6 separate regions of the Homo sapiens genome follow, and all the other regions are linked to region 6. The links are contacts of gene promoters, found by promoter capture Hi-C in blood cells and fetal thymus (Javierre and others, 2016). All regions are on one chromosome and are shown on one strand. Each heading gives the region's core, a stretch centred on a gene start or on the middle of the fragment in contact. The rest is flanking DNA. Distances are from core to core; before and after follow the strand shown. Region 1 overlaps AKAP13 (A-kinase anchoring protein 13). Region 2 has its middle 54 kb from the start of MIR7706. Region 3 overlaps AKAP13 (A-kinase anchoring protein 13). Region 4 overlaps AKAP13 (A-kinase anchoring protein 13). Region 5 overlaps AKAP13 (A-kinase anchoring protein 13). Region 6 holds the start of SEC11A (SEC11 homolog A, signal peptidase complex subunit).

What was found. The method cuts DNA at HindIII sites, captures the fragments that hold promoters and counts their contacts. A CHiCAGO score of 5 or more calls a contact.
Region 1: a contact is called between a fragment that was not itself captured here and the fragment with the promoter of SEC11A in region 6, in 1 of 17 cell types (total B cells). The highest score is 6.1, in total B cells.
Region 2: a fragment that was not itself captured here is called in contact with the fragment with the promoter of SEC11A in region 6 in 1 of 17 cell types (total B cells); the score reaches 5.9 in total B cells.
Region 3: a fragment that was not itself captured here is called in contact with the fragment with the promoter of SEC11A in region 6 in 1 of 17 cell types (non-activated CD4 T cells); the score reaches 5.9 in non-activated CD4 T cells.
Region 4: a contact is called between a fragment that was not itself captured here and the fragment with the promoter of SEC11A in region 6, in 1 of 17 cell types (monocytes). The highest score is 7.4, in monocytes.
Region 5: a fragment that was not itself captured here is called in contact with the fragment with the promoter of SEC11A in region 6 in 1 of 17 cell types (monocytes); the score reaches 6.9 in monocytes.

Annotation. Positions count from the first base shown.
Region 1 is chr15:85,703,079-85,707,351 of GRCh38, reverse strand. All of the region lies in intron 17 of AKAP13 (A-kinase anchoring protein 13), which reads right to left. Among named protein-coding and RNA genes, the nearest start is that of LINC02883, 54 kb to the left of the region's middle. RefSeq lists an enhancer at 1-4 and a silencer at 2,371-2,500. The HindIII fragment of the contact is 4,594 bases long and covers 1-4,273 here.
Region 2 is chr15:85,324,946-85,328,865 of GRCh38, reverse strand. No RefSeq gene overlaps it. Among named protein-coding and RNA genes, the nearest start is that of MIR7706, 54 kb to the left of the region's middle. The HindIII fragment of the contact is 253 bases long and covers 2,078-2,330 here.
Region 3 is chr15:85,684,067-85,688,066 of GRCh38, reverse strand. It overlaps AKAP13 (A-kinase anchoring protein 13), which reads right to left. Exons shown (of 37, transcript NM_007200.5): 16 at 3,194-3,326. Among named protein-coding and RNA genes, the nearest start is that of LINC02883, 73 kb to the left of the region's middle. RefSeq lists an enhancer at 161-470. The HindIII fragment of the contact is 616 bases long and covers 1,108-1,723 here.
Region 4 is chr15:85,544,048-85,548,364 of GRCh38, reverse strand. The region is part of intron 5 of AKAP13 (A-kinase anchoring protein 13); the gene reads right to left. Among named protein-coding and RNA genes, the nearest start is that of AKAP13, 170 kb to the right of the region's middle. The HindIII fragment of the contact is 1,568 bases long and covers 1,138-2,705 here.
Region 5 is chr15:85,616,074-85,620,031 of GRCh38, reverse strand. The region is part of intron 8 of AKAP13 (A-kinase anchoring protein 13); the gene reads right to left. Among named protein-coding and RNA genes, the nearest start is that of LINC02883, 140 kb to the left of the region's middle. RefSeq lists an enhancer at 1,902-2,071 and silencers at 3,740-3,789, 3,850-3,899. The HindIII fragment of the contact is 1,108 bases long and covers 1,182-2,289 here.
Region 6 is chr15:84,714,494-84,718,813 of GRCh38, reverse strand. It overlaps SEC11A (SEC11 homolog A, signal peptidase complex subunit), which reads left to right and starts at 2,675. Exons shown (of 6, transcript NM_014300.4): 1 at 2,675-2,789. The coding sequence starts at 2,739. RefSeq lists enhancers at 1,327-1,890, 2,012-2,121, 2,142-2,261, 1,891-2,456, 2,932-3,001 and 1 more. The HindIII fragment of the contact is 22,021 bases long and covers 1-4,320 here.

The DNA of each region.
Region 1 (4,273 bases), core at 914-3,413, 990 kb before region 6:
ACCACAATTTGGCAAGGACAGCATTTTATCTCAATTCCTTTACTTTTCACTCCCTTGGCCTACAAGGGCCACTGACGTAAAAACCCAAGCCTCTGTGTCTCAGAAGGCTTACCATCAGCTCTCAGCGCTGCTATAAAGTCACATAACAGAACTGTTCCAGGAAGCCAGAGGTAAAGCAGAAACAAATGAAAGATCGGCCTGTGGGGACACTCGAGGAGACACTCTCATGGGAAGGGCTCACTCAGGAAATCAACCACAGATACCATTCACTAGGCAATGCCTCACAGACTGATTCAGGAAGCATCACAGGTCCTGTCTACATCAACTCACCAGTTAAGGGCCAACATCTCTTTTGGGCCAACATCTCTTTTAGCCCAGACACATGGATTTGTGGGGGACTGGAGTGATGATGGGGAGGGAAGGAAACCAGAAAGGAGACTGCTAGAATCCCAGACCTCAAAGGCCTATTCCATGCCTTTTGTAACACTTCCTTTAACACCCACTTGGTTCACAGGTCTCCTCCTTAATACCACTGGCACAGTGTATTGAGACTCTCTTAGGTTTTTCTCTATCCCCTCTCTGGGGCAGGGACCATTCACCCACTGCTGAATCTTCAAATTAAGACTCTCCAGCATAGTGCCTAGCTCATGCATCCTATTCAAATGCTCCTCTCTCGGCCCTACTATGCCTATTTAAACTAAAATTAGATGAATGCGCTGACACAGCCTTGATTACAGTATGTCAAACATCAATTTAGTAACACAAAAGGACAAACAGCTGTCAAACTAAATTTGACGTAGGTCCTGGCTCTGCATGTATGTATGTACTAGTATGACCCTAGTCCCTTCTTGACAGGCCTCCGTTTCCTCATCTATAAAATTAAAAAGGAGGAATCACATTTTCCCCCAGGTTCCCTCTGCTGTGATTCTATCAGATGGGTAAGTGAGTTTCAGGCTGCTGGACCCACAGCAAGAAGCATAACAAAGTGGTCGAGGCAAACGGCTTTATTTATTTTCTAGTAAGCCAAAACATGTTTCTGCCCATCCTCACGAGCACTATTCTTACTCAGGGTGTATGGTGCACCTCCCCTCCTCTGCCACAGAGATGCCCAGGACTTGCAGCTGGCATGCTCCTTTCTGGTTTCTTCCTCTCCCATTAGTTGATCCATCATATCCTTCCCATGCACAGACTTGAAAGCCCACCCCACTCAAACCCTTTCTCTTCACAAATCCCCACTCAGCTAAAGTCTTTCAAATACATCATCTTTAAGTCCATTTCTCTTTCCCTTCTACAGAAAAAGTATAAAAAGACTATGAAAAGGCAAAGTCAATGATTAGTAGATCTATGTTTTTCAGCGTGCTGAATCCTCAATATATAATGCTGAAGAGAATAAAGCAAATTACAAAAAGAGGTACTGTATGGTAGTATTTATGTAGGTTAAAAACAAAAACAAATTATATGTTGTTTATGTATGAAAATAAATTATAAAACACAGACTACGAATGCACTGAATTCATGACAGTCCTTGTCCTTGGGGAGGAAGGAAGATGCATGGGGCAGGGAAACAAAGGGGAATCTGAACTTAACCATAATGGTTTCTTAAAAAGTGAAACAATCTGAAGCCGTCTGACAGAATGTTACTATGTGTTCATTCTGAATCATGGACACATATGTGATAAATTACCTATGTATAATACTTTGTATTAACATTTTTCAAAATTAAAAAAAATTTTTAATTTTTAAAAAATCATCACACTCTAATGTCGTTCAAAGTTCCTTGGATTTGCTTATAAACATTTCCATATCCTTTTGCATAATCCATTTATCGCATCTTGTGATAACTTAAAGATAAGATTTTATTGTCTTATAATCCAGTTAAAAAAGTATATTTTTTTTCTTTTGTTTTATTGAAAATCTATAATATTTTAGGCACCTAAGGGCAACACAGGAGGTGGCAGATTTGCTGGAGAACCAGCTACTAATTCTGATCTGCAAAAGTGACCAAGAACACTATGGGCAGAATTTGTTTCCAAGTTCTGTTCTTTCTGTTCCTTTCTTCCCAACCAGTTCCAACACCCTACAGAGATTTAAGCAATGATGATTTTTAAGGGAGTGGCACTATCACGTAAAAAGGTTTCAGCAATATTCAAACTCTCAGGCCAGTGTTTGAGTGTCTGAGATGAACATAGAAGCAGAAAAAAATCATTTAAAATGTGCTTCTAGTAAAGAACTTTTCACATAAATTCACTTTTAATTAATTGAAACATGTCCCCAAACCCACAACCCAGCTGGAAGTTTAACACGCTCTATATTATGGTCATGAGTTTTCTCTTAGTGATAGTTTGCATGGACATCTCCTTAACATGCTGAAGTACCTACTTGAAAAACACTCAACTTGTTTCCAAGTTGTCCTGGACTCAATTCACAGTGACAGTTTTAGAGCTGTGCGTGGGTGATTTAGAAACTTCAGCCCCACTGACATCAGCCAAAGTCATGAGACTAAAATCTTACTCTCTGTTTGGGAAAACAGAAAATTACCAAGAACACAAGAATTGAAGACAAATCTAATACATTTTTAAGCTCTCTGCCACAAACCATACCATGTTGTTATGAAGATCAGAAAATAATTATCTGGCCTTTTATTTATTTATTTGATAGATTTCCTAATAGCAGTAGGCAATATGCTTTCATTTTTTAAAATTCTTCAAAAAGGTCTCAGCACAGTGGTTTATGGGAACAGAGCTGATCCCTAATCGGATTCCTCTGTACCTAAAACAAACAGTCCAGCCTTCAACTTCTTTCTTTGCTACAAGGAGGCATCAAACCAAAGAAAATGAAGTTAAACCCACATGACTGGAAACTATCATCTATCTATTGCTGTATCTTTTTTTTAACCCATGCCACCAACCACCACAGATCTTTGGCGAATGGTTATATACTATGTGTTTTTTATCTTTCGGAAGAAAAATAAAACAAACCATTAGCGAGGCTAACTTAAGAAAATCAACTTTATACAATGATAAGAGGAGTGGCCATGCCAAACTGAAATGAAATGACAGAATATCAAAGGACTGCCTACACAGAAACGAGCCACCTTTGGGAGCTGAGTCATATGCAGCCAAGGCTCTGACAAAAAAGGTCTTCCAGTACTTCAGTTCATTGATCATCACTTGGGAATAGGCTGAAGACTTCTGACTGTTCTGCCTACAGATGTGAGCAGCAAAATCTAACTGGGAAAAATGACCTGATTCTTCTCCAGGACACAAGTTGAGGAATTACCTTTAAGGATAGAAATGCACAACTTTCTCCTATCATTTCAACTCTAACCAAGAAAATGAAAATAAAACAAAAAACAGTTAAATATGAGCAAATTTAGAAATGCATGCTACAAAATTCTTTCTGCAACTTTAAACTTCTTGTTTAAAATCTTTAACAGAGACCCTGTCTCTCAAAAAAAAATTATTAAATATATGTGTGTGTATATATATATATATATATTTTTTTTTTTTGAGATGGAGTCTTGCTCTGTCACCCAAGCTGGAGTGCAGTGGTACGATCTTGGCTCACTGCAACCTCTGCCTCCTGGGTTCAGGTGATTCTGCTGTCTCAGCCTCCTGAGTAGCTGGGATTACCGGTCCATGCCACTACGCCTGACTAATTTTTTGTATTTTTAGTGGAGATGGTATTTCGCCATGTTGGCCAGGCTGGTCTCAAACTCCTAACCTCAGGTGATCCACCCGCCTCAGCCTTCCAAAGTGCTGGGATCACAGGCGTGAGCCACGGCACCTGGCCAATAAATAAAATCTTTGGGGGATTTGAGACATCGCCCTATCTGGACTAAGAGTGCTTATATGCAAAAGGCATGTGAGATGTTCTTGGTAGCTGGTGTAATAACCACAGTGCTGATGTACAGAACAAGAAGAAAGCCACAAAAAAGAGCCAAATCATCTCAGCTGAAGTAGCCCCAGCAGCAGTTTTCGTAACAACACTGGTAAACAAAAATGAAATAAAATGAAAGTATTCTGCTTAAAAAAGAATTGCCTTTATTGCTTAGGGTCTTTTTTTACCTTCCTTTTCCCTAAGTAATAAACTTCCTTCCTTTAATCAACTATATGTATTTTATTCTCTCATATAAGCAATGAACTATAAATGCCAGAAAACTGTCTAGAGGGCAACTTTTCTGATGAAATCAGAAGTAAAATCTAACCATCACACACATTCTAAATTCTTATGTTTCCTACTTAGATTGCAGCTGGTTTACTTGTTTATTTTT
Region 2 (3,920 bases), core at 955-3,454, 610 kb before region 6:
AAAAAGATCTGAGATTGTTCATATGCAGCAGGAAAGAACATCGTCTACCATGGGTTTGGGTGTAGGGTGGAGGTGCCATTATGCTTGCTGTGGATTTGTCTTTTTAAAAACTGAATTGCTATCTTTCCTTGCACCCCAACATTTGGTTTGCTCTTAATAAGGCGGTAACTGTGGTCTAATGGAAAGCACGTTGGCCTCGGGGTCTGAAGATCTGAGCTGGAATCTCAGCTATGCCACTTACTATGACCTTGAATGAGTGGGTCATTGACTCTCCCCTCCTGAGCTTGGACTATGAGCTATTCATTCCCAGCTCATAAGGTGTGTGTGAGGATTAGAGGAGATGACAGATGAAAACATCTACTTAGTATCCAGCTTATGGGGAGTGCTCAATCATTTATGTGCATTTATACAACCCTTATTTATTTATCCATCCAATAAGTAGGTGACATAAATCTGGGGGCAGGGAATATGATACTGTACTGAATACTTAGAAAATTTCCAAAGATGAAAATAGGGCCCTAAAGGGGTTTGTTCAGGAGAAAGGAAGCATCCTTTCCTTTAGGTCAAACATCCTCTCAAAGCGAAGGTATATTTAGAAGCCTTCAAACTGGCTTCCTGCACTAAGGGAAGAAATATTTGCATTTGTAGAGATGACTTATTAGGGAAGCTCTAATAAGTTCTCACAGTGTGGCTCCTTGATCAGCATCAGCATCACATGAGAACTTGTCAGGAATGAAATGACAAAGGCCAGCTCCTAAAACTCAATCGATTTGTAGGTAAAATACTCAGGCCCTCGCTCATAGGCTTGGTTCTTATCAGATGCTTTTAATCCATAGCAGAGAAAAAACAGCAAATAGGAAGTGAAGTGGAGCTATTAGAAGGTGGACCAATAAAGGCAGAGATAAGATGGCAATCGATGGAGAAAATTCAAATACTAAGTCCAGACTTAAGCTCTTTAAATGTAGGTAAACAGCAACATACTTCCTCAATAGCCTATGGTCATTACTTAATATTCTAAAGGGAGATATCTGTAGTGCTGGCCTAGAATCATCAAGAAAAACTTAAACCATGTTTTTGTGTTCTGTTTAAAATGGTAGGATGGTATGGATTTCAGAAAGACTTTTTTTTTTTTTTTTTTTTTTAGATAGAGATTCACTTTTCTTGCCCAGGCTGGAGTGCAATGGCGCATTCTTGGCTCACTGCAACCTCCGCCTCCCAGGTTTAAGAGATTCTCTTGTCTCAGCCTCCCGAGTAGCTGGGATTACAGGCATGTGCCACCACACCCAGCTAATTTTTGTATTTTTAGTAGAGATGGGGTTTCACCATGTGGGTCAGGCTGGTCCCAAACTCCTGACCTCAGGTGATCTGCCCGTCTCGGCCTCCCAAAGTGCTGGGATTACAGGCGTGAGCCACTGCACCCGGCCAGAAGACTTTTTTAAAATAAAAAATATACTTCAAATAACATTTGAGTACTTTAAGGAGTTAGCTTTACTTATTTGGGAATTTCACTTTGTGGCATGCTTCCTTCCCCCAAGAAACTGATCAATGAGGCATCACTGTAACTTGTTGAGGTCAAGTGCTATTTCCCATACTTTTACCCACTCCTGTTTGACCACACTGTAAGAACTCAATAAATATGTGTTGGTTGATTAAGCTTCCCTCTGGGCATTGGGAAAAAAAGGGGGTAAACTCAATTGTTTTATAGTTATCATGCTGTTGCCACAATGCCTGATTATTGCTTTTATCTTCAAAGCCCAATGTTCCCTGCTGATTTCTGTATTGTTTGCTTCTTTTCTTCTTTGCAGAAAATGAAATCTATGCATGGAGTGCAATCTTGCTGAGAACAATTTGTTTCCTTTCTATATTGTCTCTCCATGCCCTGCTCGCTCCCTTCAGGTACTAATCATAATTATAGTGCTTGAAGATTCAGTGAATTTCATCATTCCTTGTTACCAGCTATGAAAATCATTGATCGTTTCAAGGATTGGCTATTTGTTGAGAAGACTTATTAGGGAAGCCCTAATGAATTCTGAGAGCATGGTCCCTGGACAAGCAGCATTAGAATCACTTGGAAGCTTGTCAGAAATGCAAATTTTCAGGCCCCACTCAGACCTACTGAATTAGAAACACAAGGAATGGGGCCCAGCAATCTTGGTTAACAAGCCTGCCAGGTGATTCTGATGCCTGGTCAGGTTTGAGATTGGCTGTTCTGGAGTACCATCCTTCATCTCACCTCTTACTGTACCAAAGGAAGTGGAGTAGGGGTTGGGGAGACAAGTTGTCCTCAGTTCAGAATATTTGGAATATAAACCTACAGAGATAACTAAGCTTAGTAGAAACAGCACAGGCTGAGATAAACCTTGGCTTAAATTCTGGCTCTGCCTACATGTCTTTGAGCATAGCATTAATACACCCTAAAATGTTATTAACCATTTTGTGACTCAGTGTCCTTAATGCTTTGCAGAAGCTAAATGTTAGTTCTCTTGCCCTTATGTTGTTTAGGCACTAGAAGTGTTTCCACTTGGAAAAATGTGTCTTCCTATGAAAACCATATTTGGTGCCCAGAACCAAATGTATCTGAAATACTAACTTGGCTTTATACTTTAGGTATATTATGGGTTAAAAACACACTTAACAGGCTTTTGTGTGCTGGCTTGGGAACTTTATTATCCATTTATTTCATCATTTAGTCATGCCTTTTAAAAAGCACAATACAATTTCCCTATGGTGAAATATATTCCAAGTTCCAAAAATATAATTTATACATAACTTTTGTGACATGCTCTGTCCATTTGATGTCTCTATGCATCCATTATATCTTTAATGTAATCCAGATAGTCAAACTCAAGGAGCAGGGATTTGGAAGCTCCACAAAATGAGTATCTTTCCTCAATACTAGTAAATAGTCTTTGTAACTAAGTAAAACTCAAAAGCTGTGACTTGTTTTCACTACTGACTACGCTCAGCTGAAAACGAAGAATAAGACATTAGGGCAAACCTGGGCTGACTGAGGCATGGAAGAAAATGGAAACACAGAGTTTGGGCACCTGTTTGGCCATGAAGCCACGTCCATTGTCTCTAGGGTAAGTTCTCACTGAGCCTCCTAGCACCTTAGCCACCACATCATAAGGTGACTTCAATGCTGTAATTCAAGGGCAAGAGCTCTAGACTTTTGAAATGAACCACTCATATCTTTTTTTTTTTTTTTGAGACGGAGTCTCGGTCTGTCGCCCAGGCTGGAGTGCAGTGGCGCGATCTCAGCTCACTGCAAGCTCCGCCTCCCGGGTTCACGCCATTCTCCTGCCTCAGCCTCTCAGGTAGCTGGGACTACAGGTGCCCTCCACCACGCCCGGCTAATTTCTTTTTGTATTTTTAGTAGAGATGGGGTTTCACCATGTTAGCCAGGATGGTCTCGATCTCCTGACCTGGTGACCCGCCCGCCTTGGCCTCCCAAAGTGCTGAGATTACAGGCGTGAGCCACCGCGCCCGGCCCATATATATATTTTTTTTTTTCTAAGAGGAAATGCACAAATGGTGAGAAGAGATCTCAGCTTTTGTTCCAGATCTGTAAGTTTTCTCCTCTTTAAAATTGGCCTGAGCCAGGCGTGGTCCCAGCTAGTCGGGAGGGACCTGTAGTCCCAGCTAGTCGGGAGGCTGAGGCAGGAGGACGGCTTGAGCCCAGGAGTTTTAGGCTGCAGTGAGCTATGATCACACTGCTGCACTCCAGCCTGGGTGACAGAGCAAGATGTTGTCTCTAACAACAACAATAACAAAATTGGTCTGTGAAAATGTAAATGAAGACTGCTAATTTGTGTGAAGCAGTGTGGTTTAGTAGGTAGTGTGTGCATGAGAGGCAGAGGATCTGAGTAACCCTGGCCTTATTTCTTGCACATAATCTAATTTTTTTTTTTTTTTTTGAG
Region 3 (4,000 bases), core at 166-2,665, 970 kb before region 6:
TCTTTCCTCTCTCTCTCTTTTTTTTTTTTTTTTTTAAGAGACAGGGTCTTGCTCCATTGCCCAGGCTGGAGTGCACACAGCGTACTGCAGCCTTGAACTCCTCGGCTCAAGTGATCCTCTTGCCTCAGCCTCCTGAGTAGCTAGGACTACAGGTGTGTGCCACTACGCCCAGCTAATTTTACAATTTTTTTGTAGAGATGAGGTCTCACTATACTGCCCAGGCTGACCTTGAACTCCTGGTCTCAAGTGATCTTCTCATCTCAGCCTCAAAGTACTGAGATTACAGGTGTGTACCACTGTGCCCCACCCCCACCTTTTAAAAAATCATCTTTTGCTACATTGACAAAAGCCAAGCTGTTCCAATTTTATTTAAAAGTGAGCTAGTAACACCTCACTATAAAAGGTGACTTACAGTTGCCACTAGGGCACTCTAAACACTTGGTAATGGGAAATGGACTACAATTCAGGGTTACAAATTTGTAATTTTTTGAGTTTCCACTGCTAAAGACAGCACGACCCCAAGAGATCAAATCTTGAAGCCAAGTCTGAAAGAGGAACCAATCTCAATTGCAAAAAAGTGTTGTCATTTTGACAAAGGAGATGATCAGAGACAAGAGGTCAACTGATACTAAAAGTTTCTACCAGTGATCACAGATTTCGGTCTAACACAAAATATGTTTTCTCCTGTCCTTTCTGCTCATCTCCTCCTAGCAAACTCCAGTCCTTTCAGATTAAAAAAGTTAAAAGAAAAAAATTACGCTGTATAGTAACATTTTGTTTAAACACAAAATGATGAGTACTACTTCCTGGAAGTCAGATAACAGGAGGTTGTGTGAGGTTGTGTGAGGTTGTGTGACATGAAGCATACATCTCTGTGCCTCAGTTTGTAAAATAAGGAGGCTAGGCTGAGGGCTGAGACTTTTTTAAAGGTCAGGGTCCAGTTTCTAAATTCCATCTTACGTTGTTTTTTTTCCTATCATGTGTATGTTTTACCTTATCCATGAGATGAGTGGTACATTCACTGCTCTGTCCTAAAACTCCATGACATTGGGGAGATGGCTAGAAAGGGGGAATCTCCACTTATTTATTGGTCTTCCACGAAAAGCTTGTTTGAAGACAAGATTCAGTAGTTTTAAAGCAAAATAAAAAACAATGAAAACATTTTGAATTCATCCAAACTAGATCATAAAGTTTTTCAAGGTCAGGACTATGAGCTTTAGTTCTCTTAGGTGCCTGTTAACACCTAGTGGAATGCTAAGACTATACAAAGCATTTAATAATACTTGGCTAATTTATATTGCTCTGTCCAAGGGGATTTTCTTTTGTTGATACCAACTAGTATCCAAGCCGGCAGTGGTAAGTAAAAAAGGTAAGGCTCTATTTTAAGCCTGGCTGCCAATATGTAAATACGTAGAATACTGGTAAAGCAGTATTCTTTGACCTTCATTTTTTTTTTTTTTGGAATTATAAAACAAGGCTGAGTCTGAAGTTAAATGTGTGATTATGCTAGAAATAATTTGCTAGACTCTTTGCATCTCTCCCTGATTGCCTACTTTCTCTCCATTCTGTACTTGCACAGGAGAAATGAAAACACAATTCTTGTGGCACGTTTGGTGGAAAAATTTCTTTGAATGTATTTGCTAAACCAAGAGATCTTACAAAACATGGTAAAATACTTTGGCTATATTTCCATCAGCCCACTGAAGTGAGGGCTTGAGAAGCTTAGTGCACCTTGTTTTGTGAGGGAGGAGGCAATGCCCTTTTATGACAATATTCTTGAATTCAATGTTTGTTTATTCCCTTACTTCTAAATATGCATGTATCTACGTGTGTATATATCTGTATGTACATGTATATACCACACACACACACACATGCATGCACGTGCACACACACACATACACACACACACACACACACAGTGATTCCTTGCAAGAGTTCCTTAACTGATTTCAAATTTTTATTTACTTATGTCTTTATTTTGTTAGAGGGTGTTGTGGGTAGATGAACAGGGTGTGAGAGGCGAAAAGTTTTTCCCCACGGACTTGAAATGGAATCAGTTTTGGTTTAGCACTGGGAATCAGTATAAGAAAGTGAACTTCTTTTCTCCCTTTCTTTTGAAAATACATTTTTAAAAAAGATTAGAAATATATAAACCAAAACATTAAGTGTAGTTATCTCTAAGCGGGGTTATTCCAGGAGATTTTCATTCTTTTACTTTTAGATTTTGAAGATTTCCATAATGAGCATGTGAAAAATAATTAGATAAAAAATGTTACTTTAGGCTGGGCACGGTGGATCACACCCAGGGCTTCGGAAGCCTGCAGCGAGAAGAGTGTTTGAGGTAAGGCATTAGACCGGCCTAGACACAACAGCAAGACTTCATCTTTACAAACAAATTTAAACATAGCTCAGCACGATGGCACAACATGACTGTAGCCCTGGCTACTCGGGAGGCTACGGTGCGAGGCAGGAAACTGCTTAAGCCTGGCAGTTCAAGACTGCAGTGAGCTATGGTCACGCCACTGTGCTCCAGCCTGGGTGATACAGTGGAGCCTTACACACACACACACACAGACACACACACACACACACACACACACACGGTTTAAACATTTATTTAATCTCTTAATCACTAAGAGAATATATTCCAAATGCTCCTAATTAGAAATAGATCTAAGAAATCATATTAGTCTTAAAAGTTCTTGTAATCTTCTGTGGGATAATCCTTCCCTCTAAAGCCAAATATAAATATTTTCAATCCTTTGATCTTTGCATAAAATCCTTCTGTTGCATTTAAACTGATATTACAGATTTAAGCACTGTGGTTTAAGAGTATGGGATTTGAAACCAAAGAGATCTGGTTTGAACTACTTCTTCACATTAGAGGAGTATCCTCGGTAAGGTACATCACTTTTAGAAAAGAGAGATAACACCTACCTGACAGGGTTGTTGAAAGGGTTAAATAATATATGGAAAGCACTTAGCATATAGTGAAAACTCAGTAACTGGTAGTTCCACTTCTTGCTATTTTTCTTCTTATTATTTTCCTTTAAATATTAGGCGATTTCGGAGAGTAATCCTGAATTTATTTCCATTTATGTCCCCATGATTTAACCAGTTTTGGTGTGAATGCAGGCTGTGACAGGATCCTACTGAGGTGATCACAAGCAATGCCCACAGTGATACTCACTTTGCTCTTCTTGCTGCTAGACATTTTATTCTTGATGTAGCTGAATGTACGACTGACTTTTGTTCCACTCTTCCATTCAGAATCTTTCTTGGAGGGGCTATGTGGCAGGAAATTATAGTTCTCTTCTGTTATACTAAATAAAAACAAGAAGATTGATTTTTTTTAAAGGGCTACAGAAGTTAAATAAAAGTGAAGCAGAATAAAAGGTAGATGAAGGCTGCTGAATGGCTTTTTATAGAGTATGCCACAACGCCCAGGTTCTGTTATCAAAACTTGGCTAAGTTTCCTTAGATCCGTCACTAATGTTTTCTTGTTCACTTGTCTGTTTTGGAGACAGTCTTGCTCTGAGTGGTGTGATGATAGCTCACTGCAGCCTTGAACTCCTGAGCTCACGCAATCTTCCTGCCTCAGCCTCTAGAGTAAGCTGGGACTAAAGGCACATGCCACCACGCCTGGCTATTTTTCAAATTTTTTTGTAGAGATGGGGTCTTGCTATGTTGCCCAGGCTGATTTTGAACTCCTGGCTTCACACAATCCTCCCACCTCAGCCTCCCAAAGTGCTTGGATTACAGGCGTGAGCTACCGCCTGGCCCATTTTTAATGTTTTAATTATGGATTTTCAGTGACCTCATGTTAAAAAGAGCCTGTCAATTATTCAGTAATTATTTTATATGGAATCTATTCATCTACAATAGCATTCAATCTACAAACTCCTTTGTAACAAATGGGTGCTTGAAAGGAAACCCATATATGTAGCAGAATGACAGGGTACTTGTTAATAGGAGTTGCAAACCAAGGAATCTTATG
Region 4 (4,317 bases), core at 672-3,171, 830 kb before region 6:
CTGTATGACAAATAAGCCCTAATTTTTCATATTGCATACACTAAAGGCTGGGTTATCATCCAGGAAGTAAATAGCAATATCCTTTATTTATGAGATGAAGAAATCAAGGCTTAGCAAGGAAAGTTTGCAAATGGCAGAGCCAAAATGCAAACCTAGGTTTGACTTCCAAGTTTGCACACCTAGTCACTAGCTGGAGCCTCCTCTTACTCTCAAGCTCCCTCATACCCCCAACATGGGTGATCCAAGTCCCAAGATTTCTACTTTGAGATGTGTGAGTAAGAGATCAGCCAGATCCAATAACATCTGGCTCTAATATTTTCTTCTTAGATAACTACAATGCCACGCTCATCTGATATTGTCACTTCCTAGCATTCATGACACCAAGAGCCTGCAAACTGGGGTCTTTACCTATTCTCTCCATTACTAACTAGTTAGGTGACCATGGGTGGGGTCTTCAAATCAGAGGAGATGATTGTCCAACTAAAGGAAAAGTAGGCCTACATGTTTTGGGTACTCTTCTGGGGCTAAGATTTCTCAGGCAAGACAGAAAATTAAAGAAAGGGAAATAAGAGATAACATATATGTCAATCACTGAGTTATGCTCCCTACATGAATTCTTTCATTTACTTAGAGTGAAACTTAAATACAATGTATTTAAGATGAATTTTCAGATCACAAATGCATTCATATTCATAATGTAAGATCTAAATATAAGCTAAAGTGAAACAGCAAGTCAACAAAAGCTCTGCCTTCCCTAACACTGAACAAAGTGAAAGTTAACAATCATGGGTTACAAAAAAGGGAAACTGTAAAAAAAATGTCCTGAGTAGTTATTACTATCTGGTAGGATTTAAAATAAAGTTCAAGTGTTTTCTAAAGGGATAGGTCTTAGAGAATCCTTATATGTCCAAGAATGGCTAATCATAATTTTCGCAGAAGTAAGACTTGCTTTATCAAAATAGACTGGCAATCAAAATAAGCCTTGAACAAAGAAACACAAAAAGAACTTGGGCCCTAACCAGCACAAGGCTCCCCACACCCCACTTAAAAATTAAAAAGCAAAAAACAAGGTAAAGCACCAAGGAATTAAAACAACAAATGTACTTGGGAAGGGCTATAAATGGGGTTAAATAAGCTTGACTTTTCAGTAAAGTGTAGAATGCAACTAGTTATTCAATAAATGTAAAATATACATAGCCATACTTCAATTTCATACTAACTGAAAAGAGGCAATAAAAGAGGCCGGCTTATATGTGGACAATTTCATTTTTAAAAAGCAGGGTGGGGAAGAAGATACCCAAACTATTAGAAAGATAGCATCATGGCTGGGCGCGGTGGCTCACGCCTGTAATCCCAGCACTTTGGGAGGCCGAGGTGGGTGGATCACGAGGTCAGAAGTTCGAGACCAGCCTGACCAACATGGTGAAACCCCGTCTCTACTAAAAATACAAAAATTAGCCGGACATGGTGGCGCATGCCTGTAATCCCAGCTACTCAGGAGGCTGAGGCAGAAGAATTGCTTGAGCCTGGGAGGCAGAGGCTGCAGTGAGACAAGATCGTGCCACTGCACTCCAGCCTGGGCTACAGAGCAAGACTCCATCTCAAAGAAAAGAAAAAAAAAAAAAAAAGAAAGATAGCATCATACATTGTGGCGATTCTTAACTTTCTACAAACCCCTTCGTGAATCTCACCAACAAATGCTTTATTCAGAAAAACATGTGCATAAACCTTTATAATTTCAAGAGATACAGACCCCATGAAGTCTATTCTTGGGCCACTTTTTAAGAATCCCAGGAGTGGAAGGAAAGAGCTCTGGACAGCTTTTGGCTTCTATTTCTGGTCATACCACCTTGTTATCTTCATCCAACCACTTTGTCTCTCTGGATCTCAGTTTCATCTGTTAAAGATGATCTTTTCTTTTTAAGGCTGTAGTATTCCGTTATATGAATATACCACATTGTCCATTTATCTGTGATGGACATCTAGGTTGTTTACACTTTTGGCTGTGTGTGTGTGTGTGTGTGTGTGTGTGTGTGTGTGTGTTTGGTAACAACAATTATATAAATTTATTTATGGGGTACAGTGTGATGTTTTAATCTATGTATATACCATAGAAAGATAAAATCAACCTAAGTAACATATCCATCATCTCAGCTACTTATTTTTTTGTGGTGAGAAATACATTCTTTTTTAGCAATTTTGAAGTACGTATTGTTTTTCTGACACGTTACAACATGGGTGAACCTTGAGGACATTAGCTATGTAAAAGACAGACACAGAAAGACAAATGTTGCATGATTTCACTTATATGAGGTACCTAGAATGGGCAAATTCTTAGAGACAGAAAGGAGAACAGAGGTTATCAGGGGCTGGAGAAAAGGAAGTTCAGTTTGGGTGATGACAAAGTTCTGGAAATAATAGTGGTGATGGTTACGTAACTCTGTGAGTGTTGTGATGGTACTGAATGCTACTGAATGCTGTCCCTAAAATTTACTATTTTAACCATTTTTACGTTATGTATATAGGAAAAGAAAGGGGAAGGAAAGGAGAAAAGAAAACCAATAACAAAATGATCATTCTTGATTCTTTAACAACTGAAATTCTACCAAATTCTACTAGAATCACTCTCACACTGAGTGATTTGGGACAATCGCCCCCTTTCCATTTTTTAATCGCTAATTATGACTCAGAACTTTTTCTAAGCTTCACAACAGTAACATCCCAGAATTCAAGTTAAGAGCTAGATCTGCAGCAAGGTGCTCATCCTCTCCTATCAGGGTCCTCTATTGGTGATTTCTCAGGTTGGTTTTCCCTTACCAATCTCCCTTCAAAAGGAGGTAAGTGGCTTTCCCACATGTAACAGAAGTAGTACTTTTAAAGTAAGCAAAAAAAAGTCAAAGAACAAACACACTCTAGTTTCCTTAAAGCTGTGCTGCAATAACAGTCTTGTGACATCCCCTCCAAGGATATAATGAAGCTGTTGTAATCACTTTATTTCCCCATTTGGATGGCAGTCCTTAACCAACTCTGCTTCCCAGCAAAAATCAAATTTAGAGGAAATGCATTTGAACTTCACAATAGTTATGCAGAGTTAACTGTTTCAACTTCTGAAACAAGGCCTCTCTTCCTGAGGCCATGAGGCTAACCGTAGAATGAATCCAATCATTGGCCAGATGGGAAGTGTGAAGGAGTAGAATGTATCACTCCCTGGAATACTGTCTTAGGAGAGCTCAGGTATCCAAAGCTCATTTGAGATAAGTGCCCCTCCTACCACCACTGTATCTGTAGCACCCATCAGAAAGCTTTCTGCAAAGAACTGTCTGTCTAGCGTGATGGGGAAAGGTATAAGCCTGGCAAGTGAATCAAGAAAAAGCTGTTTACATAACCGTAAGTAGCACTACATTCTGAGGTCTCTTTTTGGTCCTTCCAGACTATATACACAGTTAAAAATGGTAAAACATAAAGCACAACTAAATTAAATCTGGCATGAGCAAAATATCTGAGAATTTGCTAATACTGACTCAATTTGCACAGGTCCCTCAATTGCTAAAGAACATAGATCCAATGGGTTTATACTTGTTCAGATAATGTGGTGGAAAAGATAATGATGATAACCACAAAACTAATAAAAATGTATTAAACAACAGAAACTATTCTTGAAACTTCTTTATATAAACATTCCAATAAAAACTTTTGGCTGCTCTAGTGTGTTTATTTCTTTATTTATACAAGAATAAAAGAGCGCTCTTCAAATGTTTTGACTAACAACCTTCCTCTAGAGAACTCTTTAAAGAGTCAGGACATATAATAATTGAGCCCAAAAACAGACAGGATTTCCTACTGCACATTTCCAGGACAATTCAGTTGCTTTTTATTGCTGTTCATATGAAGAAACCACTGCTCTCAAATTTTATTCACAGAAATTACATTCAATCCAAAACTTAATTGTTTACAATATTTTCTGTATGCAATTATAATATGGAAGTACTGGTTTCTAATTAACTCTTTCAAGTCTTAAAGACATACCAGAAAAAAATATATGATATAGGAAATCTGTTTCCTCTTGTACTAAACCAGGATAAACTGTATACATTGGTAATGTTATGCTACCTCCACAGACAAGGCTCATTCTGACTTTTGAGTAAAATAGTAAAATATAAGAGATAAGAATTGAAGAAGGCAGGCAGGCAGACGAGAGAGAAAATGGTTAACACGACTTACGTTTCTCTCTCAGACAATGAAGTGGTTAGCAGGAGCAAGCTTACAAACCTCCAGCAGAAGGCAAGATACAGAGCTGAGGTTTTAATTTGCGGCAAA
Region 5 (3,958 bases), core at 486-2,985, 900 kb before region 6:
GGACCAGTGCAAGTCCTTAGTTCCAAATTTCTCACGGTTAGGTGGTGGAGATCTCTGCCTTCCAGACTCCTCTCTATTAAAACTCTCAAAGGGGTCAAAAACAATGAATTAAAAAGAAATCAAGCAGAATCCAATGCCTTGAACTGACTGAGAACTTGCTGATAACTTCAGAGTGCTGGAAAGATGAATGTAGAACTCATAATATAAACAATAAATACCACCTAATGCTATACTTTGTGCAGATCTTGACTGAAAGAGAAGCAAACACCGTTTCCATCACTGGCAATGACTCCAGTAAAAAAATAAAGAATAAACTGGCTAAGCATAACGGCCGATACACGTAGGGAAAAAAACCCAAGAAGGCAATAAAAATCCAGTATATACTTTGCCAGGAAGAGGGAGAGAAAGAAAGGAAGACGACGCTATTTCAAAGCGATGGCATGAAAAAAGTCATTAGATTCTGTTCTTGCTTAAAACAAAAACAAAGACAAAGAAAATCTACTTTTCCTTAAAAAAAAGTAGAAGCTGGGAGATGCTTTTCAAAGTAAAGTCTTTGGAATCTCTCTTGCTCACCAGGCAGTAGGGCTTGGTTTTGATTTAAGTTGAAAATCTCTAAGGACAGCAGAGTAAAAGGGAAAAAAATAAAAGACCACTCCTGCTGTACTCCCTCCCTCCCTCCTTCCCTCCCTAGCCAGCCTCCTCCTCCCTTTTTCCTTCTCTCTCAAGAACGTCACTGCTTGCCCTTTCAGCTCCGCACCCGCAGCCTTGGAGGTTTGAAAACCCAATTGCAGTTGTGGGAACATGATTCATCTACCGAGACGAAGAGAAAAACAAGGCTTCCTTTTCCAACCCGCTTCTTCTTCCTCCTCCTCCTCCTCCCACCCCTATGAAAAAGGCTCTGTCAGGCATTGCAAGATGCAGCTCAGTTCTTTGATGTCAGAGTAGTATGCTAATAAAGGAAGGGGGGTGTTATACTAAACACCACAAGCGTGTACAATGGACTTGTCGTGAGGTACAGAAAATTGAAACTACCCAAAGCATACACTATACCTCCCTGCCAAATGCAAAGCAATGATTTAACACGAGAAAAATGTCAGCCAAATATTGCAGTTATGTCTCTAGGATCGAGACGTGGCTATAAATGTGTCTGATAAAGTTTAAAAATTATCAAGAGTTAAGCTTTATTTTTGGGGAGGGAGAAGGGATGATGGAGTTGATTTAAAGAAAATGAAAAAGAAAAGGAGTGGAACAAAGGAGTTCTGTGTATGTTAATATTTGTTGCGACTAAGTATAGCTGCCTGGCTGGGACTTCTTCAGTGTTTCTATGCACACTAACTGGGTCTTGAATTGTGGGTCTGCTACTTCATTTGCCTGTTTTCTTACTATTCCAGACCCTTCTAGCCCCCCACTCTATCTAACATTCTCAGGGACAGACTTACTTCAGAATGCATTCTCTCACCTGAGACATTCTCTTACTTGGATCATGAATGATTTGGGAGGGAAAAGGATGAGGAACTGAGGGAAGCAAAAAGCAGAAAGGAGTGAAGAAACAAAAGAAAAAGGGATTAAAAAAAAAAAAGGATTTCTCTTTCTAGGAGCTGCTGACATTTTCCTTGAGTTGTCCAGAGTAGTCCTTAGCTAGGCTGTGAAAGCAGTGGCTCAAATACCACAACAGAAGGGGAGAGGAGAGATTTAACACCTACATTTCTGTTGACATTGCAAACAAAGTTGGTGAAAAGGTTTTTCAGGAGCTAAAAAACGGATATAGAAAAAGGGTATAGATGAGTTGCTGTGTCCTCAGGCCAGATATTCAAGTTGCTGACCAGCTTAAAGGAGGGAAATACAGCAAACCCTGCTAAGAAGACTGTAAACGTCTTCCTCAACTTTCTATTAATACACCCCAGCTACATACAGGCTTTATTCTGAAATAAAAGCCATAAGGTTTTATCTCCCTATTCCTCACTGGTTCATCCGAGGAATGAAGGCGGACAACCCCTCCCCTTCTCGTGCCCCAAGTGAGCCTTGGCTCTGTAGTGGTACCAACATGTGCAGTGAAACAGATGTTGCTTTTCATTACAAATGAGGCTACAAAACAGTAGAAACAAGACGATTTGACAGAGATTTAAAAGTTGTAAATAAAATTCTTGCTCAGGCTTATCAAAAGCATGGGAACTTGACCAGAGATTTACAAATACTTCCAAACTATGTGGTCTAGGGCACAGACAGAAAGAGCCTTTAGGCTTGAATGTATAGATAAACTGATACTTTATTATCTTTTCTGTAAAAGCTTTCACCAAGCTAGAATGTAGAACTCGCCCTTCTTCTTTTTTTGAACACAGAGCTGCCTCCCCTCTGTCCTCAATATGGTTTGTTCCTCACTGCCACTCCCTTCTGTTTTAATTAGAATCAAATGATTCCTGCTTCCAAGGTTCCCAGGCATCTGTCTCTCTAGGGATCAGAGATGGTTTAATCACCATTAAAACCCTCCTACCGGCTGGGCGCGGTGGCTCACGCCTGTAATCCCAACACTTTGGGAGGCCAAGGCAAGCAGATCATGAGGTCAAGAGATCCAGATCGTGGCCAACATGGCGAAACCCCCATCTCTACTAAAAATACAAAAATTAGCCAGGCATGTTGGCACATGCCTGTAGTCCCAACTATTCAGGAGGCTGAGGCAGGAGAATCGTTTGAACCTCGGAGGCGGAGGTTGCAGTGAGCCAAGATCGCGCCACTGCACTCGAGCCTGGCAACAGAGCAAGACTCCGCCTCAAAAAACAAAAAACAAAAACAACAACAACAACAAAAAAGCTTTTCTACCCTATCCCTGTCCAGTGACTTACATGCAGATAATTTATAACAATGTAACAGATATTTTGTGACTTCTAGTGGAGGCAAGCAAAATAAATAGGTAACAAGGTGTCTGTCTTCAGGAAGTTTTTAGGAGAGAGAAACTTGTTTCAAAATAATATAATTTTCTGAAAGAGCCTAGATTACTGTTTGAGACATAAAGACTAACCTTTTTATTTCTAACTTCTGGCTTTGTGCCACAGGCTGGAAAGCTAGATTTCCTGCTCTTTCTGCATATTAAAGGACAATTCCTTACATATTCTGTTCCTTGTTGGAGGACAAATACCCTGGGTGGGAAACAAATGCTCTGGGTGGAAAAAAGAGTCTGTGTTGCTTTCCCCTCTGGATCTGCTCAGCACTCCCCAACAGAAGACAGAATCTGCAGTCTTGTGCTTTTGCAGTTGATGTGACAATTCCAAGTTTTTATCAAAAACATCTGGAACCATTGAACAGTAATTCTGCCAGGATTTTGAAATACAGCAACCAATCATTTCATATCTAAACCAGAGCTGAGAGTTACAAATTTAAAGGAGGTTCTGAGTTTATTTCCCTTTTCTTTTAATTTGGGGAACCTGTAGTAAAATATTTTATTATTTACAGCCATACTACTTAACAGTAGTTACTTACAGTATTAATTGTCTTTCCTTTCTTTCTGCAGCCTCCATCCTGCCCTCTATCCACACAAATGGTCCCAGATTCTTTAAAAACAACCAGTGCTTTTAATCTGTCTCATGCCACAGGGCCAACATGCAATTATTAAAGATTCCAGAAAATGAAATATAAAAATATTTTATACATCTTAATTTAGCTATAGCATTTGTGTTCATGAATTAAATTTTCATTTGATTTACTTAACTACAAGATCTAGCACCTTACCAAATTGTTTAAGCATTCTTATGGGTCAACACTGTGGCTGCTTTAGTTCCAGTTAGGGCAGAAGCCCATCTGGAGTCTCACAGCAAAGTTTCTGAATTAGGACACCACCTAGTGGGGGATGCTGAAGACCCAAACAGAACACCAAAGGCCAGTGAATATTTTTGTGGGGGTGTGGGGATAGGGGTAGGGCTCATCTTCTGCTACTATGTATTTTTTCCTGAAACCCCAAAGTGAA
Region 6 (4,320 bases), core at 1,426-3,925:
GACAATGTCCCTGTCCTCATGGAGTTCACATGTATTTTCTTCCACAAGTCTTCCTAAATTGGATAAATTAGGAATTTTTTTTCAACTCAATAAGTGTGGGGTGCCTAGAGGCAGCAGTTTTTGGAGGTGACAAAAATACACACACACACACACACACACTTTTAAATTCAACAAGTATTTATTGGGTATAACATGTGCTAGGCTATGTGTTCACCACTAGGAATTTAACAGTGAGCCAGACACCAGTGGTTTCTTTTTCTTTCTCATAATAGCTTTATTGTGATATAATACACATACCATACAATTCACCAGTGTAAAGTGTACAATTTAATGGTTTTGAGTATATTCACATAGTTGTAGAACTAGCATCCCCTAAAAGAAACTCCATACCCATTAGCAGCCACTCCCCATTTTCCCCAACTCTCCCAGCCCTAGGCAACCACTGATTTCCATCTCTGTGGATTTGTCTATTCTAGATATTTCACCTAAATGGAATCATGCAATGCTTTGTCTTTTGTGACTGGATCCTTTCACTAAATCTGTTTCAAGGGTCATTCATGTTGTAGTATTTCCTTTTGTTGCCAGATTAATATTCCATTGTACCAGCGGAATTATTAGTACATTATTCCAATATACCACATTTATTTATCCCTTCATTAGTTGATAAACATTTCAGTTATTTCCACTTTTTAGCTATTATGAATAATGCTGCTGTGAACATTCATGTACAAGTTTTTGTGTGGACAAACGTTTTCAATTTTCTTGGGTATATACCTAGCAGTGGAATTGCTGGTTAATATGGTGATTCCATCTTTAACCTTTTTTTGTTTGTGTGTTTTGAGATAGGGTCTCACTTTGTCGCCCAGGTTGGAGTGCAGTGGCACGATCTCGGCTCACCGCAAACTCTGCCTCCTGGGTTCAAGCGATTCTCCTGCCTCAGCCTCCCCAGTAGCTGAGATTACAGGTGCCCACCACCACACCCGCCTAATTTTTGTATCTTTAGTAAAGACGGGTTTTCACCATGTTGGCCAGGCTAGTCTGGAACTCCTGACCTCAGGTGATCTGCCTGCCTCAGCCTCCCAAAGTGCTGGGATTACAGGCATGAGCCACTGCAGACGGCACATCTTTAACCTTTTGAGCAACTGCAGCTATTTCCCAAAGTGGCTGCACCATTTTACATTCCCACCAGCAGTATATGAGGGTTCCAATTTCTTCACATCTTCCCCTAAACTTATTATTATTTGTCTTTTTTATTACAGCCATCCTCCAATAAATTCAAGTTTTTATTTTGGAATGACTTTCCATTTAAAGAATTTCGAGGATACTACAAAGAGTTCCAGTATATCCTTCATTCATCTTTCCCTAATGGGAGAGAAGGATTATTTTGAAAAAAAAAAAAAAAAAAAAAAAAGAGAGAGAAATGATACCAAGTAATCCAGCTTTAGTCTTTGTTGACTGAAGTGCGTATTAGGAGCTTTGGCCAGTCAAAGCAAAAGGTAGCGAAAAGATAGTCACTTCAAGGTGTCCAAGTTAAGAAAACCAGGAGGTAGAATTCAAGGAGACCATGTCAAATCCTGTCAGCAAAGTCAAGGTCAGAAAGGAAGCCACTTCCTAACGACCCACACCACTGGTGGTCTCATCACGCTGTTGCACCATTTGGATGTTTTCTAATTCTCCCGGGCTGTTTTCTCTCCAATTGGACTGTAAACTCCTGGCAGGCTCAGGCAGTGCTCGGAAGGTCTCTCACACGGTCCAACCTTACGCGAAAAGCACTTATTGAAAGCACCTCGATGGCCGGGCGCGGTGGCTCACGACTGTAATCCCAGCACTTTGGGACGCCAAGGCGGGCGGATCACCTGAGCTCAAGAGTTCGAGACCAGCCTGGCCAACATAGTGAAACCCTGTCTCTACTAAAAATACAAAAATTAGCCAGGTTTGGTGGCGCGCGCCTGTAGTCCCAGCTACTTGGGAGCCTGAGGCAGGAGAATCGCCTGAACCCGCGAGGCGGAGGTTGCAGTGAGCTGAGATTGCGCCACTGCACTCCAGCCTGGGCGACACAGTGAGAAAGAAAGGAAAGAGAGAAAGAGAAAGAAAAAGAGAAAGAGACAGACAGACAGAAAGTAAGCAAGCAAGCAAGCAAGCACCTCAACAGAGACAGAGACGTAAAGAAAGAGAGACAGAGACAGAAAGAAAGAAAGCACCTCCTCAGCTTCCCATAGCGCAGGAGACTTGCTCGACCAGAGAACCTACGGTCAGACGACACATCCACTGCCACACCCATACCCAAGCCGGGACGCGGAACCGCTTCTACCCGCCCACACCGGAGAGGTTGCTCGCGATTGGCCGGGCGGGCACAGAGGCCCGCCTTCCGAAGGTGGCAGAGCAGCCTCCCCAACTAAGCCTGGGTCGCCGCCTCGGTGAAGGGCCGCGGGGCCGAGCGCGGGAAGTGGCGTCCAGTCGGTTTTTGGCAGGCGAGAGCCAGAGCGTGAGAACCCTCCCACGGCGAGGCCAAGCCCTGAGACTGGACTAGCAAGGTCGTGAGTCTCTCTGTCAGCTCTCCGCAGCGAAGGGGCGCGGGGGGCGGGGACCGTGCCCGACCGTGCCAGCTCCCGCCCCGGAAGCGGAAGTGCAAGCACTGCGGGGTCCTGTCCAGTGTGAGCCCGACCCGAGCTCCAGTAGTTCCGCCCGCTGGTCATCGCGCCCTTTCCCCTGCCGGTGTCCTGCTCGCCGTCCCCGCCATGCTGTCTCTAGACTTTTTGGACGATGTGCGGCGGATGAACAAGCGGCAGGTGAGCTTGTCCGTCCTCTTTTTCTCCTGGCTCTTCTTGTCCCTTCGAGGCTGCTGCTGCGGGGCCCGGCGGACCCCAGGGTTCTGGTGTGAGGGTCTGAGCTGGTCTGATACCCGGGTCATTCGCTTTCTTTGGAGACTGTGGCCAGAGGCCGCCTTGTCCGCCTCATTATTTTTAACCCCGAACTGATTCAGGGCCTACCGGGGGCGGGGCGGGAAGCGGTGTCTTCACGTTCCATTCCTCCCACTGAGGCAGGGGAGCAAATGGAAACCGTACGCGCTTGAAGTGGGAGTTGGGGTTGCTTATTGTTTTAGTCATTTTAAGGCGGCGGACTCTTGATTTCTCCAGTCGGAGCGACTCCAGGTGGTTTCGGGAGAGACGAGGTTTAGCCGGTTTCTGGGGCGCTCAGGAAGGCGATTGGAGGCCCCACAAAAACCGTTTTGCTGCTTTCAGCTCCTTGCAACCCTTTAGTAGAGCTGAACCGTAGCGGGCTGCACCGACTTTGACTTGGACCACTCTGGGCTCCGAGTTGGAACAGTTACACTACTTGCCCTTGCGTCCGCTTAGCACTAAGGCGGCAGCCCTCGGAATCTATGGTTTTACAGTCCAATATCAGTGCCACGGGGATCTGGAAATGTAGGTCTCCTGATTTTGTCCTTACACTTTACTTTGATCTTCTAGATCGTATGCCAAATAGTACTGAGAATATTGTTGTAATTATTTAGTCCTTAGAAAAGGTTGTTCTGTTTTATCTTTTGCGCCTAGTGTGTCTGTAGAGCCTAGTTTTGCTGCATCGGACTTTTTTTTTGTTTTAAACAGTATTTTACTGTTATGATTATCCTGATGTCACCATTAAGGATTTTTTTTCCTTGGACTTGCATTTTTTGTACTTATAACTGCCACTTAGGGAAGTAGATACACAACCTTTCCTTACTCCCCTTCAGGCCTTAGCTAGCTCAGTGTCAATTCTGTCAGTCAGAATTGAGCATTCTATAAAAATTGCGCAAACGTTACTTTATGTCTTTATGACAACACTTCAAATTTTTACTTGTATAGTGTTGTCTTTTTTTAATCCATATTTGGATTTCTAGATGCCACAGATATTTCTCTGAGGAAAGTATTTATTTTGAGTCTGATATTTATTGTACTCTATGCTAGGTACAATGAGAGAAATGCAAAGATAGTTAAGAAAGACTCGGCCTTCAAGGAGCCTAAATGTGTAGAAAAGGACTAAGGCAAAACAATAACTTTTTTGAGCTCTTGCCATGTGTGAAGCACTTTATACACCTGTAAGGTAGGTAACGTTGTTCTTATTAAACATGAAGAAAATGAGACTTTGTGAGAAGCAATACAGTATAGAAGTTAAGAATATGGACTCTAAAGCTAGATTTCAGAGGTTTGAAGTAGCTCTGCTACTTACTGGCTGTGTGACTTTGAGCAGATTACTTAACCTGTCTGTGCCTATGTTTACTTTTATTGTTGTAAAAAGATATGCAACATAAAATATTCCATTTCAACCGTTTTTACGTGT